2 separate regions of the Homo sapiens genome follow, and region 1 is linked to region 2. The links are contacts of gene promoters, found by promoter capture Hi-C in blood cells and fetal thymus (Javierre and others, 2016). All regions are on one chromosome and are shown on one strand. Each heading gives the region's core, a stretch centred on a gene start or on the middle of the fragment in contact. The rest is flanking DNA. Distances are from core to core; before and after follow the strand shown. Region 1 overlaps LOC107985410 (a long non-coding RNA gene). Region 2 holds the start of APCDD1L (APC down-regulated 1 like).

Region 1 (3,901 bases), core at 83-2,582, 130 kb before region 2:
GTTTCCTTGGAATTGAAATCTAGGTTGATGGTTTTACATTTTAAAAGCTTTCATTGTGACTCATTCTTGGCCTGGGCTAGGATTCGGTAATACTCCTCGGGCTTGGTGAGGCTCCGTGTCCTGTTTCTTGGGCTTCATACCCACTTTCTAACATTCTGCCAACGAATCCAATAAGTCACTTTTGGGGACAAGTGTTTCATTGTTTTCTTGTCATCTCATTCAGTGCAGGAGGAAGCCCCATTGAAGCCAGGCCATGGCTTGGGCAGGTGCAGGTTTTCAAGTACTGAGAGGGGATGGTTAGCTCAACAGGTCAGCAGTGGGACACACACCCTTTGGTGAAAACAATTTAAATGAGATAGGGCTCATGTAAGCCCTTATACAACCTCAGCATAGAGTAAGTGCGCCACAAATGGGCAATATGATTTATTACAGCAGTAGTCTTACTGTTGGAAAGCTCACGTGGGCTCTGCTCTCCCTGGAAGGCATCATAAACTCCAAAGAGAATGGCATGGTATTGAGAACTGAACACTTGGAAATCTAAGCACGTTTCCGAGCTTCTTGTTCTGGACCTTGGGAATCCAGATGTGTCTGCAGTGCACACTCATGTGGAAGAGGGGGCTAAACCATCTCAAAGACACCTTTTAACATTGGTCTTTCTCCCACCTATAGAAAGACAGATGGTTGTTTGCTTATCAAGCAGCAAAAGCCCCCAGGCCTAACATATGTCTCGTCTGCACAGATCTGACAGACAGATTCGGGCCAGGTTCGGGTAACAGGAGTTGTGTGTTCTGTGTCCCCAAATAGTTCCTCAAAACCTTGAGTATTTCCAACAACAGAAAACTCCCTATCTGGGTCTGTCTTCAGCTATGATGCCTCTCCCAAGAAGGGAGACTCTGGAGAGAGGCAACACTTTTGTTTTGTCTGGAGTCCCGTAGCTTTTAATACCAGACAATTCAATACAGTAGGCATTTCTAAAAATCTACCAGTGGCTGTGCCTATCTCTTGCCAGGCACTGCTGAAAGAATGAAACAGCAAAACTCTTGCCTTCAGGGAATTTGCATCTCCACTGTCTCTACCCAAATTCTGGTTCTCATCGTGTACATTTTCCCAGCAGCCTGCTAACAACCACCCGTCTCTTCCCTCCTCATCCTGCAGCCACAGTGACCTTTCCAAAGCATAAATCTGATCATGTCACTGCCTGATTGAGGCCCTGAAACAGCTCCCTCTGGCCCATGCCAGCCGATCTCAAATGACGCTCAGCAGAAAACAGGTGCTCTAAGTTGAACCAAGCTGGGCATCACTAATATTAACTAATGATGGACTTTTCTTGGTTGTCAGAAAAAAAAAAATGAAGCTAATTAATGGAGTAGTCTCCATCTTAAGTGTTTCTCTTCTCGCTTTCTCTTAAACCTTCAGTCCCTGCCACCACTTGGCTGTATTAGAATATAGTATAAGACTAGATCTGATTTATTCCAGAATCATGGATTTCAGTACAATTTTTTTCCCATAGATCAGTATTTCCTGGAGTTCTGCATTTAGGTTTTCTACACTTTCCACATGGCGGAGTGCCCCCTGGGCATTCAAAGCCCTGCCCAACAGGCCCCACCTAAATGGTGAGCTTTTTTCTTTCCAGGACTTGGCTCACAGGCCTTTCTCTGCCTGGTGGGGGTAGTGGCGGGGGATGTGTCTTGCCCCTTCTGCTTGGTGAACCCTTCATTGAAGACAGCACCCCCTACACTGTCAGGTGTGATAAATGTTTGCGGAATGGATGACTGGATGGATTAATGCACAAAAGGTGAGATTAACTATATTAAGTGCTAGAGAATACCAGACAGTCAAGACTCAAAATGGGTGGAGAGATTAGGGCAGTTCTCTGTCCCCCTCGCTCACCCCTTTTCAGCCACACTAGCCTTCCCACCATTCCTCACACCTCCTTAGCACCTGCTTTGCTCTCCTTCCTAGGTTCTTCAAATAACTGGCTCCTTCTCACCACTCTTGTCTCAGACTATTCAATAGAAAGTAATCCTCCTACCCTGTCCACCGTGTGGGGAGAGGACTCTCCTCTCCCAGGGCCCTTATGTCACCATCATACCAGGTGCCTGCCCATGCTTGGTCAAGTTCAAGACTGAAACAATGTCTAACATCGTGGCTTTTGGTCTTTGAGGCCAAGAAGAGGCCTCTTGGGTCACAACACATGCCAGCAAAGCATATCTGCATTTTACTTTTTTTCCAGGATGATGTGGACACATGTGTACTCAAATAAATCAACCCTCCCATCTTAACCATCTCCCTTGGCAGGAACAATAAGTTAATGTGCCAAGCCAGGACTGACCTGGATGACTCAAACCCTGAAAAACATAAAGGAAATCATTGTGTTTTTCCGCTAGCAGGTATTGAAACATAGCCAACTCACTCGTTTCTAGTTTTTTTTCCCATGGCCATGACCACTGACCTGCTCGTGGTAATTTGTGTGATGTGCAAGTGCAGGGCTGGACTCCAGCCTTCTCCAGATGCTGCCTGTGCAACCAGCAGCCCCTTATTAGCTATGTGGCCATGCATGGCTCAAGACTCCTTTGGTCACAAGGGACAGAACCCAAATCAAATGGACTTAAGCTTCAAAGCAAATGTGTTGGCCCAAACATCTATGCGTAGCTGGATCCAGAGGAGGAAACATATCAACAAGGAGTTTCTATCTCTCAGCTCTTTCTTCCCCTGTGCTGGTTTCATTCTCAAGCCAGTGAACCCCAGGAGGTGGCAGATTGCTCTCTGGAAGCTCTGCCCTGTTATCTCACAGGACAGCAACCCCAATAGATTGAAATTTCTCTTTTCCAGTGGTTTCAAAAGTCCTAGAATGGACTCTCATTGGCCTGTCATGAGTTATAGCCTTATCCCTGAATTCATTTTTTTTTTTTTTTTTTTGAGCCAGGGTCTTACTCTGTCTCCCAAGCTAGAATGTGGCGACACAATCACAGCTCGCTGAAGCCTCAACCTCCCAGACTCAGGTGATTCTCCCACCTTAGCCTCCCAAGTAGTTGGGACTACAGGCAGGTACCACCATGCCTGGCTAATTTTTATACTTTTTTTTTTTTTTTTGAGACAGGGTCTCACTCTGTCACCCTGGCTAGAGTACAGTGGCGCTATCATAGCTCACTGCAACCTCAAATGATTCTCCCACTTCAGCCTCCCAAGTAGCTGAGACCATGGACATGTGCCACTGTACCCTGCTAAGTTTTATATTTTTAGTAGAGATGGGGTCCAGGCTGGTCTCGAATTCCTGGGCTTAAAGAATCAACCCACCTTGGCCTCCCAAAGTGCTGGGATTACAGGCATAAGCTACCACACTCAGCCATAATTTTTTATACTTTTTGTAGAGATGGGGTTTCACCATGTTGCCCAGGCTGGTCTCGAACTCCTGGGCTCAAACTATCCACCTGCCTTGGGCCTTCCAAAGGCTGGAATTGCAGATGTGAGCTAGTATCCTGAAATTCTAAACTTAGCCAGAAAGTAGTGATCATCAGATGGGTCAGACCAGGATCACGTGACCACTTCTGAACTCAGGGAGGGTGCCAGGGTCTGATCCATCCAAACACAATGGATTATAAACTCGCCTCTTCTGAAATCAGCGTGTTAGAACCAAGAAAAGTGATGTTGGGTGCTCGCATGCAACAGATTTCTACCTTGGGTCTGTTTTCAACCCACTGTGTGCCCTTTGCACACTGCTATATGCCTCTCCTTCAAACCCACTCCTCTGGCTTCTGGAACTTTGGTCATGCCTGCTTCTCCTCCTTCATCATCCCTCTGAGGCCCAGCCCCCAAATTTTGATTTTCCCCAGTGTTAAGTCCTTGCTTTTCTGTTACCTTTCACCTAACCACAGTGGCAGGTCCCGCCTACCCATGGGCC
Region 2 (4,216 bases), core at 19-2,518:
ACAACTCTCCTCTTGCCCACAAAGTTATCCCTTTCATGAGAATTTAATATGTGACAATGGCCATTGTCTGCCAGGGAAAGCTCATACCGATTTCAGTTTCAGCAAGGCCACCTCGAGTCTCATAGAAACCAGAAAAAAAAAATGTCATTTTCAGGAAGCAAATTGATCGTTTTCCTCACATTTCCATTTGCGTTAAGATCATGGTGTGGCCTTGCTCTGGACTTTTTCCTATTCCCTGTTGCCTCTGGAGAGGAGGAAAGCTAAGGATGGCTGGTGGGCCCACATCGGGGGTCCCTGGGTGGATTGAAGGGCTCTTGTGGCTCCTGGAAGCCTCGCCCAAGTTTCTGGTAAGAAATCAAAAGGTGAGGTGGTGTCCCCTGTTCCCCTGTGGGATGATCAGCCCACAAAAGTGGGACAAATGAGTCTATAAAATGCTTCAGAGGGGCAGGTGGACTGCTCACTCGTGAGTCCCGGGAAACAGGCCTGGCCCAGTTCTCCAAACCTTTCCCCAGGGAGACCGCATCTCTGTCTTCTCTCTTCTTCTCTCTTCTCTCTTGTTCTCTCTTCTCTCTCTTCTCTCTTCTCTCTCCCCCTCCCTCCTCCTTCCTGGTTCTCTTTTTTCTGTTGATTTCACTCCCTCCTTTCTTTTCCCTTTCTCTTTCCTCCCCTTTCTCTCTCTTTCTCTGCCTGTTTCCCCTTTCCTCACTTTCATTTCTCTTTCTGTCTCTTTCTTTCTCTCCCTCTCTCAGGTCTCTCTTCTCTGTCTCTCTTCATCCTCAGTTTTCCCCTCTCTCCCCTCTTACTTTCTTTCCCTTTTTCCTTTTTCTTTCCATCTTCTTCCTCTCCCTCTCTGGGTTCGTGGCAACACAAGGAAACCCGCACATCCCCAGCCCGCAGCCTCGCCCCCTCGGTCCCACTGCAGTTACCCGGTGATCCATGCAGGTGGGAACAATCCAGTTAACTTTTCCCATCCGAGTGATTCTCTTTCTCTTCTTCATTCATAAATGCCATAACTCTCCCGGTCCTCCTTTCCAAGGCTCGTGCACTTGATTTCAAGGCTTGCCTGCCACCCAGGGTGCCACCAGAGTCCCAGTGCCTGGGTTGGGGGCTGGAGCGCACCCTTTGGGATCCCCCAGCCTGTCCTCCGCCTCACGGCTGCCTCGCTTCTGAGCTGCCACCCTCAGCTGACTCACTCAGATGAGATTTGGGAGGGAGGGGGGCAGGAGGAGGAGTTGCGAGAAGGAGGAAAACCCGCCTGGTCGGGTCCACACTTTGCCTAGATGCGTTTGGGTGTGGTGGGGAGCGGGTGACGGCCTCATTTACAGACAGAGGCCGGGGCTGGCTTCTAGGCGACCGGGTTGGCCACTTTCACTGCGCTTCTGGGTTTGCTGGGATCCAAGTTGACGCGACTTTTCCAGGAGTAGCTGGAAGACCTGAATAGAAACTTCAGGGGTCCCAGGACTGGCGGGGCTTAGAGGAACTCCCCGCCCCGCTTGCCCTTCCAGGGAACGGCCTGGCTAGGGGTGCGCTTTGACGCAAGGAGCGCATCGCTCTGCCTTGGCCGGGACCAGAGCTTGGGGGAGGCCTCCTTGCCCACTGCGAAGACTTTGGGGAAGGCGACGGCCAGGGGACGGACATCTGGGGGAGGGCTGGGGGTCTGAATGGCAGGAGCTGCACCAGGGGGCTGTGCGCGCTGCGCGGGTGTGCGCGCCTCGCCGGGGGCTGTCTCCACCTCTTCTGGCAAGTTGGACCTATGAGTGCGCAGCTCCGCTTACAACTATCAACAGCCGGGAAGGCTGAGCGCGTGTGAGCGCCGAGGGGGGCGCAGGACCCTCGCAACTTCTTCGCAGGACTCCAGCCTGGCCGCCGGCGCCCGCAGCCGTCCGAGAGCCCTGCGCCCGCGCCTCCCCTTGCGCACCGTGGCAGCGCCCGGCGGGCGGTCCTGCCAGCCCCGACGGGATGCCCGCAGCCATGCTCCCCTACGCTTGCGTCCTGGTGCTTTTGGGAGGTAGGTGCCACCCTCCCCCACCCGGCAAACTGGCTGAGCTCGGAAGGGAGGGAGCTCGCCGTCTAATGTCCCCTAAGGGCCCTTGGGGACTACGGCCCTGGGTCGGCCCACGCGGCTGCTATGCTGCGCCCTGCGCGCCTTTCTCCAGTCTCACCTGGCCGGCACCTGCGCGCCTCCAGGAGCTTCCTGGGGCCTGCGGGAGGGAGTCGCGTCACCTCGCAATATGAGAGCCGCTGCACTCTCTGCGCCAGTCGGGGCCTGGCCTGTAGGTACCCAGAGCTGCCCTTTGTGCCGGGCCCAGTGGGACCGGGGCCTCCAAGAAGATGCAGGAGGATCCCAGGCCCACTGAGACCCCCATGGTGCGGGACAAGCCCGGCTATTCAGACCAAGGTTACTGGGGTTGTTTTTGCCCACGGAATCCTGACCTGTGCGGGGTCGGGGCTTCTTCCTGCAGCAGGACTCGGGGAGAAGCTAGGGAGCGCGCAGTGACCCCAGGCTCGAGTTGTGCCCAGCAGGCCTGACAAAGGGGACCAAGGGGCTTCAGGAACCCCTGGTAGAGTAGTCAATGCCTTCTCCAGGACTAAGGGGTTCCCTGGTGGCTCTTCGTGGGGGTGGGGAGTAGGGTAGACAAAACTGTACAAAGGCCAGCTGACTGGAGTGTGCCATCACAGGGGCCCAGTCACCACTGACAAAAATGACAGTAACCACAGTTGAAGTGTGCCCAGCTGGGGGCTCATCCCCAAGCACCCTCACATTATGAATGGCTGAGAATTCTGGCCCTGGAGTTAGACCACCTGGCTGGGAAGCCCAGATCAACATCATATCAACCCGTCTGGCTTTGGGTAAGCATGGCCATCGGCTCTCTCAGCCTTGACTTTCTTTCCTGTCAAATGGGCTCACAAAATCCCCTCCTCCGTCTGGGATGATTGTGAAGATTACGAGAGCACGTGCAGGAGGATCACTCCACTTGCTGCCTGGCACTGAGCTCATGTTCAGGGAATGGCAGCCGAGAACCCCGGGGTGAAGAGGGGCTGCGCGGTCCCACAGAGCACGCTCTGCTCCATGTATAGGCAAGGAGCAAAGTCTAAGTCACCTCGAGGAGCTCTTCAATCACAGTCTTTTCTTCCCAGCCCCCAAATTTCTAAACAAGCTGTTTTGAGAAGAACTGGCAGGGGTCTGAAGGAGGGTCAGGGGAGGGTGCCTCCGCAGTTTGAAGAGTTGCAGATTCACCTGTCGAAAGGGACATTCATCCAGGGGCCGCTTCCCCTGCCAGTCTGGGAGCGAGAGGTGACACAGCTGTCCTTGGCCACAGAGTTAGTTGATCATCAGCATGAAAATAGACCACCTCACCCCTGCTGGTTCTTTCGAAAGGGCAGGAAAATGCAAACTGGAAAGGGTGACAAGGGGGCCAGCTGTGGAAGCGCGCCTCTGCTGGGTGCTGAGATAGGGAGGACAGGATGGGGAAACCGGGTGTCCATCTGCTCTCATCCGCCTCCTCCAGGCCGTTGCACCCAGTGGGAATGGAACAGTCTAGAGTGGTGGGACACATGCCCCAGGAACCTGCAGTCTCAGTCACAGCACATGGCTGTTGTCTTTGGCAGGCCGGAGCTTCCCGTCATGCCAATGAAATCACTGTGAGTGTAGAGCCGTGGCTGGCTCTTGGGGAGTCTTGCTGCCCAGCTCCTCGGTGACCTTTCACCACAGCAAATCAGACAGATTCAACAGCAGAGAAGCCAAGAGTGCCCGGGGGCCTGACGAGAGAGGGGGGCAGCCTGCCCTCAATTCAGACACAGCCACCAGAAAGGGGGAGGGTGCCGTTCAGCCTGCCACTGCAGCTCCCAGCTCTACACCGGGCACTATTTTCCACTGAACGCTTCTTTGAAAAGCTCTTTTCACCGCTGGCTACATCACCAGGTGATGAGATCCTTTTGCTTTAGTAAAAGGAAACAGGACCCAGTTAATCCTTCAGCTACTGACATAATTTAGGTGCCTGAGCTGGGCACGCCTGAACTTCATGTCTCCAGGTTCCAGAAACTATATATATAATGGCACACCAGCCACCCCACCAAGAGAATTCAGATTGAGTACACACACGTTAGGGGTTCTTAACCTCGCCGCTATTGACATTTGGCACCAGAGGATTCTTTGTTGGGGATGAGGGGCCCGTCCTGTGCATTTTGGGGTGCTTAGCAGTATCCCTGCCCTCTT

Evidence for each region. The method cuts DNA at HindIII sites, captures the fragments that hold promoters and counts their contacts. A CHiCAGO score of 5 or more calls a contact.
Region 1: a fragment that was not itself captured here is called in contact with the fragment with the promoter of APCDD1L in region 2 in 1 of 17 cell types (endothelial precursors); the score reaches 8.3 in endothelial precursors.

Annotation. Positions count from the first base shown.
Region 1 is chr20:58,644,171-58,648,071 of GRCh38, reverse strand. All of the region lies in intron 1 of LOC107985410 (a long non-coding RNA gene), which reads left to right. Among named protein-coding and RNA genes, the nearest start is that of STX16-NPEPL1, 5.1 kb to the left of the region's middle. RefSeq lists a silencer at 285-579. The HindIII fragment of the contact is 2,566 bases long and covers 50-2,615 here.
Region 2 is chr20:58,512,451-58,516,666 of GRCh38, reverse strand. APCDD1L (APC down-regulated 1 like) reads left to right here and starts at 1,268. Exons shown (of 4, transcript NM_153360.3): 1 at 1,268-2,008. The coding sequence starts at 1,960. APCDD1L-DT (APCDD1L divergent transcript) reads right to left here and starts at 1,288. Exons shown (of 7, transcript NR_034147.1): 1 at 927-1,288. RefSeq lists an enhancer at 1,667-2,665. The HindIII fragment of the contact is 14,141 bases long and covers 1-4,216 here.